2 separate regions of the Homo sapiens genome follow, and region 1 is linked to region 2. Evidence: promoter capture Hi-C in human tissues and cell types (Jung and others, 2019). All regions are on one chromosome and are shown on one strand. Each heading gives the region's core, a stretch centred on a gene start or on the middle of the fragment in contact. The rest is flanking DNA. Distances are from core to core; before and after follow the strand shown. Region 1 overlaps ZNF611 (zinc finger protein 611). Region 2 holds the start of ZNF525 (zinc finger protein 525).

Region 1 (5,558 bases), core at 2,267-4,766, 660 kb after region 2:
TGTGTTTGTATGCATTTCTGGAATCTACACAGAGGATTTTGTTGAGTACATGCCTGAAACTAGAAGTCAGAGGCATTCAATTTAAGAGATGTAAAACTGCTTTCACCTCAGGCCACCGTACTGCTGCATTGTTGGATCTCTTTCATTCTTGTCCCTTGCCCATATTGTAATTTGCATATTTAACCTTGGGTCAATATGTTACCATTTGCTAAATTAGTTCCACTTTCCTCTAAGCTCAAGATTTGGTCTATCTTGGTGGAATTATATTCCCACAGAGGTGCATGCACAAAGTTCACTCCTACATGCCCATTACTTCCTGCCGTCCACCCTTGCCCTTCCTTTCCTGGCCTTGACTCACATGATACATTGATCTGGATGCAAATACCAGCCTATTGACTTTGTAAAAGTGAACACCCCAATTTCCCCGTGAGCCCCTCCCCTCCAACACTACTCTCCCTGAGTAAGTGAAGACCTTGTTCATCCACTGGACAAAATTATAGGAGGCCGCTTAAATCAGTGTGTGCAGGACATCATGACTCAGCACATGATCCATGAGGGATGGCTTCAGAACCACTGTCAGCAGCGCAGCTCAGCGCTTGTGTCCCAGCTCAGTCCTTGTATCCCCCTTGATGTACTTCTTTCTGTTCTCCTCATATTTTCTGTGTCTGGTCATTTCCTGTCCTGCCTGCGCTGACTATTGTGCCTAAGAACATGTCGTGGGATCCTTCATGCCCAGGATCAAGTCTTGTCCCTCACTTACCGTACGTGCAAACTGGGGTCATGTACATGAACACTGTGGGCCTGCTGTCATTATTTGAGAAATAATGTTAATTTGCCTCCAGGGTTGGTTTTTTTTTTTGTTTTTTGTTTAGTTTTGTTTTGTTTGAGAAAGAGTTTTGCTCCTGTTTCCCAGGCTGAAGTGCAATGGCACAATCTGAGTTCACCGCAACCTCCACCTCCCGGATTCAAATGGTTCTCCTGCCTCAGCCTCCCGAGAAGCTGGGATTACAGGCAAGTGCCACCACGCCTGGCAAGTTTTGTATTTTTAGTAGAGATGGGGGTTTCACCATGTTGGCCAGGCTGGTCTCGAACTCCTGACCTCAAGTGATCTACCTGCCTCAGCCTCCGAAAGTACTGGGATTACAGGCATGAGCCACTGTGCCTGGCCTTTTTTTTTTTTTTTTTAAATGGAGTTTCCCTCTTGTTGCCCAGGCTGGACTGCAGTGGTGCAGTCTCGGCTCACTGCAACCTCCACTTCTTGGGTTCAAGTGATTGTCCTGCCTCAGGACATAATCCCCCAAGTAGCTGGGATTATGCCTGGTGCGAGCCTGGCTAATTTCTGTATTTTTAGCAGAGATGGAGTTTCTACTAGTGATTCATCCACCTGCTTTTTAAAACAAATGAGTACTATTAGATGGCTTCATATAAGTTTTATAGTACACACTCAACTTCCTTTGTTTAATAATATTTGTCAGCCCTCAGTAATGTTGATGATGAGATGCCCCCTTTCCTGTCTCACTCTTTTCACTGTCCTGTTAGAAATAGCTTAGACTGGCCAGCCGCAGTGGCTTTGGCCTCTAATTCCAGCACTTTGAAAGGCTGAGGTGGGTAGATGGCTTGAGGTCAGGAGTTTGAGACCAGTCGGGCAAACATAATGAAAACTTGAACCTACTAAATTAAAAAACATTGGACGGGCATGATGTCTCACACCTATTATCCCAATATTTTGGGAGGCCGAGACGGGTGGATCACTTGAGGTCAGAAGTTCTAGACCAGCCTGGCCAACATGGTGAAACCCCATCTCTAGTAAAAATACAAAAGTTAGCTGGGTGTGTTGGTATGAACCTGTAATCCCAGCTTCTCGTGAGGCTGAGACATGAGAATCACTTGAACCTTGGAGTTGGATGTTGCAGTGAGCCATGATTGCACCACTTACTCCATCCCGGGTGACAGAGTTAGATTCTGTTTCCCAAAAAAAAAAAAAAAAAAAATTAGCCAGGCATGGTGGCATGTGTCTGTACTCCCTGCTACTCAAGAGGCTGAGGCATGAGAATCTCTTTAGGTAGGAGAATCGTGCCACTGCACTCCAGCCTGGGTGATGAAGCATTACTCAGTCTCAAAAACAGACAAAAAAAGAAATAGCTGAAACTGGAAAGCTTAAGACATAGAAATTTGTTGCTCATGAATCTGGAAAGTGGGAAATCCAAGAACAAGATGTCAGCTAGATTGGCTCCTGGTGAGAGCCTTCTTCATGGTTTAGCCCAGCCGTCTTCCTGCCGTGTCCTGATGTGGTGTAAAGAGGAGCAGGCAATGAGCTCTTTACTGTCTCTTTTTATAAAAGCACTAGTCTTTGCCGGGCATGGTGGCTCACGCCTGCAATCCCAGCACTTTGGGAGGCTGAGACAGCCAAATCACATGAGGCCGGGAGTTTGAGACCAGCCTGACCAACATGGAGAAACCACATCTCTACTAAAACTACAAAATTAGCCGGGAGTGGTGGCACATGCCTGTAATCCCAGCTACTCGGGTGGCTGAGGCAGGAGAATCGCTTGAACCTGCGAGGCGGTGGTTGTGGTGATCCTAGATCACGCTATTGCACTCCAGCCTGGGCAACAAGAGCGAAATTCTGTCTCAAAAATAAATAAAGAGTCCGGGCATGGTGGCTCACGCCTGTAATCCCAGCACTTTGGGAGGCGAGGAGGGCGGATCATGAGGTCAAAAGATTGAGACCATCCTGGCCAACATGGTGAAACCCCTTCTCTACTAAAAATATAAAAATTATCTGGGCATGGTGGTGCATGCCTGTAGTCCTAGCTACTCTGAAGGCTGAGGCAGGAGAATCGCTTGAACCCGGGAGGCAGAGGTTGCAGTGAGCCAAGATTGCACCACCGCACTCCAGGCTGGGCTACACAGTGATACTCCCTCTCAAAAAATAAATAAATAAAAATAAATAGTAAAGAGAGAAAGAAAAAAAGAAAGAAAAAATACAATTAAAAGCCCTAGTGCTATTCATAATTAGTCAACACCCATTACAAAACTCTCTAAAAGACCCCAACTGCAGGAACATCCTATTGGGGAATAAGAAATCTGATAGTGGCTTTTAGCCAATGCGAACATTCGGGCCAGGGAACATACATCATATTTTTTGTTCTTATTGTGCAATTTGTTTTATACAATGTTTTCTCTGATCTCAGTTAATAAATTTTCCTAGTACACATTCTATGTTTTATATTTTATGCATAGTGAACTAGATAACTATGGGGAATGCATATATATAAAATTGCTGTATTGCCTGGCTGTTACATAAGTGTAGTTGTGACATCATAATTACACTTTTCTATACTATTAGTCAATTCTTTCTTCCTTTGTTTATTTTTTTTTGAGACGGAGTCTTGCCCTGTCACCCAGGCTGGAGTGCAATGGTGCGATCTCAGCTCACTGCACCCTCCACCTCCTGAGTTCAAATGATTCTTTTGCCTCAGCCTCCAAAGTAGCTGAGATTATAGGCGCCCTCCACCAGGCCCAGCTGATTTTTTTGTATTCTTCGTAGGATGGGGTTTCCCCATGTTGGTCAGGCTGTTCTTGAACTCCTGACCTCATGATCCACATGCCTTGGCCTGCCAAAGTACTGGGATTACACGTGTGAGCCACCGTGCCCAGCCATTAGCCAATTCTTATTTCTTAAGATGCTGTGTATTTTCTTTATTTTATTTCATTTTTGAGACAGAGTCTCGCTCTGTCACCCAGGCTAGAGTGCAGTGGCGCGATCTGGGCTCACTGCAGTCTCCATCTTCCAGGTTCATGCCATTCTCCTGCCTCAGCTTCCAGAGTAGCTTGGACTACAGGCACCAGCCATCATGCCCAGCTAATGTTTTTGTATTTTTTTAGTAGAGACGGGGTTTCACTGTGTTAGCCAGGATGGTCTCAATCTCCTGACCTCGTGATCCGTCTGACTCGGCCTCCCAAAGTGGTGGGATTACAGGCTTGAGCCAAGGCGCCTGGCCTAATGCTGTGTATTTTCTTGGCCTCATACATCAGAAGGTAGTGATCTTAACATGTATTTCAGTTCTTATATTGTGTGCTGGTGGTTGAGTAGAAGTTGTGGCTTTTTTCTTAAGAGGGAGTTGTTTAGAATTCTGCAGGCTGTATAAATGTACTTATTTGCTTGCTGGTTTTATCTTGGGTTACAATATTTTATTAATTAATTTTTATAATTTTGCATATGGCTTTTCGGTATGTGGTATGCAATATAACTGACATGCACTATTCGTTAATGTCACAAAGTGCCACCAGGTGCAGTGGCTCACACCTGTAATCCCAGAACTTTGGGAGGCCGAGGTGGGTGGATTACTTGAGGTCAGGAGTTTGAGACCAGCCTGGCCAATATGGTCCCCATCTTTACTAAAAACACAAAAATTAGCCAGGCATAGTGGTGCATGCCTGTAGTCCAAGCTACTCTGGAAGCTGAGGCAGGAGAATCACTTCAACCCAGGAGGCAGAGGCTGCAGTGAGCTGAGATGGCACCATGGCACTCCAAGCTGGAGTGCAAGACTCCATCTCAAAAAAATAAAAATACAAAAAATTTTTGAAAAGTCACAAAGTGCCTGTTCTTATAGGTAATTTTATGACATTTATTCAGAAAAATATTCTATTAACTTTTTTTTTTTTTTTTTAGGTAGAGTCTCACTTTGTCACCCAGGCTGGAGTGCAGTGGTGTGATCCTGGCTCACTGCAACCTCTACCTCCCAGGTTTAAGTGATTCTTGTGCTTCAGCCTCCTGAATAGCTGTGACTACAGGCATGGGCCACCATACCTGGCTAATTTTTGTAATCTTTTCTTATCTTCTCAGTGCTATAATTGTTTGACAATACGGAATTTCCATTGCTTTTGGTTATCCTTACATGAGCTTGTTGTGGATTATTTACCAATATAGTATGTTGTGTGGGGAGTTTTTTTTTTTTTTTTAGCATTTATTTGTATAGAGTAAATATGCTTTAAATATGAAGAGTATATATTTTTCTCTTCACCGATGTGATGGTGATATGCTTTTTGCAAATTGTGATACAGTTCAGGGTCACAGTGGAAAAATACTCCTTACTTTAGGCTTACACATGTTTGTGCCCTGTCAGTGTTTTGTCATGACATAGGAAATAGGCTTTCATAGAATTGTCTTGAAGGACATGTAATCACCCTTTATTTACTAAAGAATATTGCTCCTTTCGTTTTCCTAAACTTTGAAGATGATGTTTGGGAAGTTCAAAATAAGTATCGTTTTTTGTGTCATATTTATGCACTTCAGTGTGATTTACCATCTGTACTTAATTGGAAATGTATTGGTGTTTATATTTTGTAGATATCTCTTCCAAATGCATGATGAAGGAGGTCTTGTCAACAGGGCAAGGCAATACAGAAGTGATCCACACAGGGACATTGCAAAGACATGAAAGTCATCACATTGGAGATTTTTGCTTCCAGGAAATTGAGAAAGAAATTCATGACATTGAGTTTCAGTGTCAAGAAGATGAAAGAAATGGCCTTGAAGCACCCATGACAAAAAT
Region 2 (5,893 bases), core at 1-2,500:
CTTTTTAGATGTAAATCTGCTGAGCCGCTGTGTACCTTAAATAAACATCCTCCTGTCTCCCCCATATCAGTCTCTCTAGTCCTCAGTTTCCCGCAACACCATCTCTGCGCCTCCTCTGCTCTCCCCGTTAAATTCTCTCTTCTCTGTTATACCCCCTGTCCCCACTCTCTGGCACCCCAGATCCCCAGGTGTCCTCCCTGCTGTGGTTCTCCCTCTGTTCTCTTTGCCACCAGCACCACTCTGCTCTGTCTGCCCTGGCTCCAAATCCCTCCTCCTCTCCCTCACCCTGATGAGCCTCCCTCTTTGCTGTCCCTCTCCCTACCTTGCTGTCCTTCATCTCTCTGTACATCTAGCTTTTCTCTACATTTCTCTAGTTGCTTTTCTCCTCCTGCTTATCTTTTTTTTTTTTTTTTTCACTTTTGCTGTCTCTTGGCAAATCCCTCACCCATCCTCTACTTTGCCATCTGTTATGGGCCTTTCTCATTCTTCTTTTCTCTGTCTCAGGTTTTCTACTGCTGTCTGTCTCCCGATCCCTTTGGCCCACACAATCACAGGAGGGTTTGGAGTAAGACGCCTGCATCCCGGAGGAGCTTATTTTCCAGGGGCTGGAACTGGGCAGGCAAGAACACCCCGTGTCACAGGACAGAACCCGGGCACCTCCCCTAACGCAGGCTCAGGGCAAGCTGTGACTGCGGATGGGAGACCTGGGGAGCAGCAGGGCCCGGCATGAGGAGGGACGTGGGGGGCGACGGCGCCTTAAGACAAGGGTGGGGTTTGTAGGATCCCAGGACAGGCAGAGAACTCGGCCTCCCCGGGACCGGAGCTGCGACGCTGCGCTCTAGGGGCCGACGAGGGCGAGGCTGGGAGGCGCCCAGGGCGGGAATTCACCTCTCGGGTGAGGACTTTAAAAAGCGCGGGGCGGGAGGAGTCAGAAAAAGGTTTAGAGCAGGAAAACTACGCGATAGAAAGTGTATATATTGCCCTATAGCAGAAAGATCCGGAACGGGACCAGCCTCAGGGAGACTTTAAACCCAAAAGGAAGTGACCCCCGGGCTCTCACGGGGACGTCTCAATTTGCTCTGGGCGAAGGAAGACGGGTGAGAATTTCCAGGTCTGTAGGGACCCCACGTCCCAGGGACAGAAGCGCCGGGGACCTGGGAAGAGCAGACTTCATACAAGATGGAGCGAAACTCACGCGCCGCTGAGGGACCTTCACTCCACGCGATCTGCTTCCGGGTTTGCGCGCGTCTGAGCGGGGAAGGACAGAAGCCAGGCCTGGGCGGGGCCTGCGAGGAGGTGGGCGGGGCCTGGGCCAGGTAGGGGTAGAGGCGGAGAGACCTTGCCCTTTAGTACCGGCAGAGGGCGGGGCGGGGCTGGGCTGGGGCGGGATCTGTGCGTCTCTCAGCCTCCCTCCCACCGCCTCTGTTTTTGGGTTTTGGAGGCGAGATGGCCAGGAAGGCCGATCCATGATTCAAAAGCCCTGGAATTGTCTGAAACGCGGATGCAAAGTAGAATGTGAAATGCAAAGCCCTGCTTGGGCAGAACTTACAATGTCATGCTGACGGCCCAGAGAATAGAATAGAAATCCTCTCCCTTTCTATTCTCCATTCACTCCGGAGGGAGAGTCCACCCTGTGCTCAGCTGCAGAGACTTCCCTAAAGCCACCGCCTGGGATGCTGGACGGAGTGCTCAGGCCAGCGAGGAGTGAGGTCACCACCTGCCGGATAAACACAGCAAGGATGCGGACGCGGGCGCGGGAGCCTGAGGTCCCATCTACTCAGGAAGCAGGGCGGGAGGATCGCTGAACCTGGGGGTCCAGGCCAGCCTGGGCGACAAAGTAACACCCCCTCCCGCAGGGCTCCCTTCCTCGTTTCTCTCTTTCTCTCTTTATTTTTCGTTGTTTTTTTTTTACGTTTTAAAATAAGAGGTTGATTGTATGAGATAGGGATCCAACATTGTTCTTTTCCATGTGGATATCCAGTTAGTTGTCCATTCCACATTTGTGGAAGAGATCTGTTACTTTCTTTTATGTATTTACTTATTTCTTTTCTTTTGTTTTGAGACAGAGTATTTCTCTGTCATCCAGGCTGCAGTGCAGTGGTGGGATCTCGACTCACTGCAAGCCTCTGCTTCCTGGGTTCAAGTGATTCCCCTGCCTCAGCCTGAAGGGGGCCTGCCCCTCCACACCTGCGGGTGTTTCTCATCAGGTGGAGATGAGAAACTGAGAAAAGAAATAAGACACAGAGACAAAGTATAGAGAAACAGCAGTGGGCCCAGACAACCGGAGCTCAGTGTGCGAGTACCCGCACCGGCGCTGGTCTCTGAGTTCCCTCAGTATTTATTGATCACTATTTTTACTATCTTTGTGAGGGGAGTGTGGCAGGGCAACAGGGTGATGGTGGCGAGAAGGTCAGCAGGGAAACGTGAGCAAAGGAATCTGTGTCATGAATAAGTTCAAGGAAAGGTACTGTGCCTGGATGTGCACGTAGGCTAGATTTATGTTTCTCTTCACACAAACATCTCAGTGTAGCAAAGAGTCACAGAGCAGTATTGCTGCCAGCATGTCTCACCTCCAACCACAGGGCGGTTTTCTCCTACCTCAGAATAGAATGAATGGTCGGCTTTACACCGAGGCATTCCATTCCCAGAAATGAGCAGGAGACAGAAGCCTTCCTCTTATCTTGACTGCAAAGAGGCCTCCCTCTTTCACTACTCCTCCTCAGCACAGACCCTTCACGGGTGTCGGGTTGGGGGATATAAGGTCTTTCTTTTCCCATGAGGCCATATCTCAGGCTGTCTCAGTGGGGGGAAACTTGGACAATACCCAGGCTTTCTAGGGCAGAGGTCCCTGCGGCTTTCCGCAGTGCATTGTGTCCCTGGTTAACAGAGAATGGAGAATGGCGATAACTTTTACCGGGCATACTGCCTGCAAACATATTGTTAACAAGGCACACCCTGCACAGCCCTAAATCCATTAAACCTTGATTCAATACAGCACATGTTTCTGTGAGCACAGGGTTGGGGCTAAAGTTACAGATTAACAGCATCGCAAAGCAGAACAATTTTTCTTAATACAGATCAAAATGGAGTTTCTTATGTCTTCCTTTTCTACATAGACACAGTAACAGTCTGATCTCTCTTTCTTTTCCCCACATTTCCCCCTTTTCTTTTTGACAAAACCACCATCGTCGTCATCACCCATTCTCAATGGTCGCTGTCTCTTCGGAGCTGCTGGGTACACCTGCAGACTAACAACAGACAGAACAGGAACACAAGGATTAATATGAAATTTACAATAGTGGAACTTGCGATGGTTTTAACCCAAGTGACCGGGTTAAGATTTGCGAGGCCATCAGCAGCTTTCGCGATTGCCTCAGTTCCTGGCACCAAATTTAAATGGGTTTTTGATGCCTCAAAAATTTTTCTTTTAATTTTGAAATGTCTAAAGTAAGATCATCTTCTCTTCCTTGTAGATGGCATCTAACCATGTCCCAATGATGCTCAGACTCATTATAGGCTTAGGATGTAATACAAAAATGTGACATATTCCAGTCACAGTGTAACCAGAAATGATGTTTCAAGCTCGTGAGCCTATCTCCCATCCAAACAACATTGTGTCTAAGGTCATTAATTTGATTTGCCAATTTTTGATCAATACCAGATTATGAATTCCACAATCTTGTAGAATTCTTTTGCCAATAATTAAAAAAGTTTACTGTCTGAGCAGAAGAGTACAATGAAACTCCTGCCACAGAGGCCGTAGCTGTGACTGCAATTAGTCCCATAATCACTGCAATTAAAGAATATTTTGGATCTATTTAAAATGGCTTTGAATACTTCAGTCAAAATATGGACGGATGGCGAGGCCTCCCACGGTCAGTCCATGGACACAGGGACCCACACGCCTTCTCTTGCTCTCACTAGCAGAATATGGTGCTGCCAATTAAAAGTCGAATCAATGCAAGTAAACAATCTGCAGTTTTCACAGGTTATAGTTTGGGAGTCTGGTTTAATAACTATATTTCCTACAACTAGCATATAAGGGGGCTTTATACAACTTTGCAAAGGAACTGTTAGACTGGAATTTAGGTCGATAGTATAAAATGGCTTGCGATCTCTTCTTTATATAGCTTGATTTCCAGATCAAATTCTAATGCAATATGAGGCCACAGTAAGCATCCATAATTGTGGATGTTCAGGACCAGAAACAAGACTTATTATTTTTAGTCTTGGAGTAGAGATTCCTTTTTCTCCCCATTCCAAAGGGTAGAAAGACTGTAATTTTTTGTGCTTATGTTTGTCTAAACTTTCTGTTAAGTCACTGTTAACAGCTGGACTCACTTGTGCACTGGGACATGACTGAGTTTGTCCTGTGCAATTGTGGTAGAATTGACCTCGACATGTCCAATCTATAATAGTTCCGAATTCATTGTTTTGTAATATCTCCGCACTATCGGCCACACATTCTTCCCAAACTAAAACTTCTGTGCCTTTTGATTCTTTGGGAATTACCTTGGGGCAAGGCTTTTGTTTAGGCCTAAATTGTAATGATCATTGATAAGAAAAGTCCTGTAAATAATTTACCTGTGGCCTGAGAGACATTCCACTTACCGTGTGATAAGTGAATCTACTGGTGGTACCGACAGTAGGTACTTCTACCAACCAATTTTGGATTGCAGGCATTAAACATGCTGGTGCTCTCCCTAGGCAAATAGGAGGATAACGATACCCAGTGGAAATATTTATCATCATTCCTTCTTCCTCAGGTTTGGCAGGGCAACGATCATCTGTGGGGCCAGGTACCCATGCACTATTATTAACATATACTTCAATAGGATTATCCATCCATGTGACTGCCCGAATTAAGGGCGGGAAAGGCACATAGGCCCAGTAGGTATAATTAGCTGCAGCTGCCCCTGCAGGCAAGGGGAGACTTACCACCGTTGATACAATCATCAAAGCTGCAAGCAGCGTGTTCTCTGGAGTTTGTGTCACCTTTGTGTTCTCTAGGCTTTTTTTTGGTAACTGTGTCAGCTTCTTTAATTGTGCCCAAGTCGGCGGCTCTGCTTTCTTGGTGGATGGCAACTTCATCTGTTCTTCTGACATCACCATTTTGTTCACCTTGTGAATCGATGGTGTTTGATTGTGGTGTTTCCATCTCCGTGGAGGTGCTTTTCTTTGCATCTCTGATGGGTTCATTGTAGAACTTTAAATGTCTAGTGGGTATCTAAACAGGAAGCTGATTTTCTCCTGGTGAAACACAAGCAAAACCTCTCCCCCAAGTTACCACCTTCCCTATTTCTCATGTCTTATTGTTGTTGTCTTTTTATCAAATCAGTTTTCCTTCATGTGGGCTGTTCTTTTGACCAGTAAGATGTTCTGCAGAGGTAGTAGTCTGATTTCTATACATGTTTAAAACATTTAAAGTATAGAATGCTAGATTAAGTTGCATCTGAGGAGTGGTACACTCCTTACTGTCTCCCCCTTCTCTTTAACTAATTGAGTTTTGAGTGTTCTATTAGTTTTTTTTAACTATGGCCTGTCCTTGAGAATTATAGGGAATTCCTGTTGTGTGTGTAATTTTCCACTGATTTAAGAATTTTTGGAAAGCTTTACTACAATATCCTGGTCCATTGTCAGTTTTGATTTTTTCTGGAACTCCCATGACAGCAAAACAAGACAATAAATGTTTTTTCACATGGGAAGTACTTTCTCCTGTCTGGCAAGTTGCCCACATGAAATGTGAATAAGTATCAACTGTTACACGGACACATCATAATCTTCCAAATGAAGGTACATGTGTGACATCCATTTGCCATAATGCATTAGGACACAGACCTCTGGGATTAACTCCTGCCTCTTGAGTGGGCAGGTGTAGGACTTGACACTGGGT

The links. The method cuts DNA at HindIII sites, captures the fragments that hold promoters and counts their contacts. A contact is called where the count stands out against the background at its distance.
Region 1: a contact is called between a fragment that was not itself captured here and the fragment with the promoter of ZNF525 in region 2, in 1 of the 25 tissues and cell types used here (IMR-90 fibroblasts).

What each region holds. Positions count from the first base shown.
Region 1 is chr19:52,706,660-52,712,217 of GRCh38, reverse strand. ZNF611 (zinc finger protein 611) reads left to right here. Exons shown (of 6, transcript NM_001161499.2): 6 at 5,354-5,558. Among named protein-coding and RNA genes, the nearest start is that of ZNF611, 26 kb to the left of the region's middle. The HindIII fragment of the contact is 5,966 bases long and covers 534-5,558 here.
Region 2 is chr19:53,361,062-53,366,954 of GRCh38, reverse strand. ZNF525 (zinc finger protein 525) reads right to left here and starts at 1,250. Exons shown (of 4, transcript NM_001348156.2): 1 at 1,196-1,250. RefSeq lists silencers at 853-912, 1,313-1,362 and an enhancer at 953-1,202. The HindIII fragment of the contact is 12,378 bases long and covers 1-5,893 here.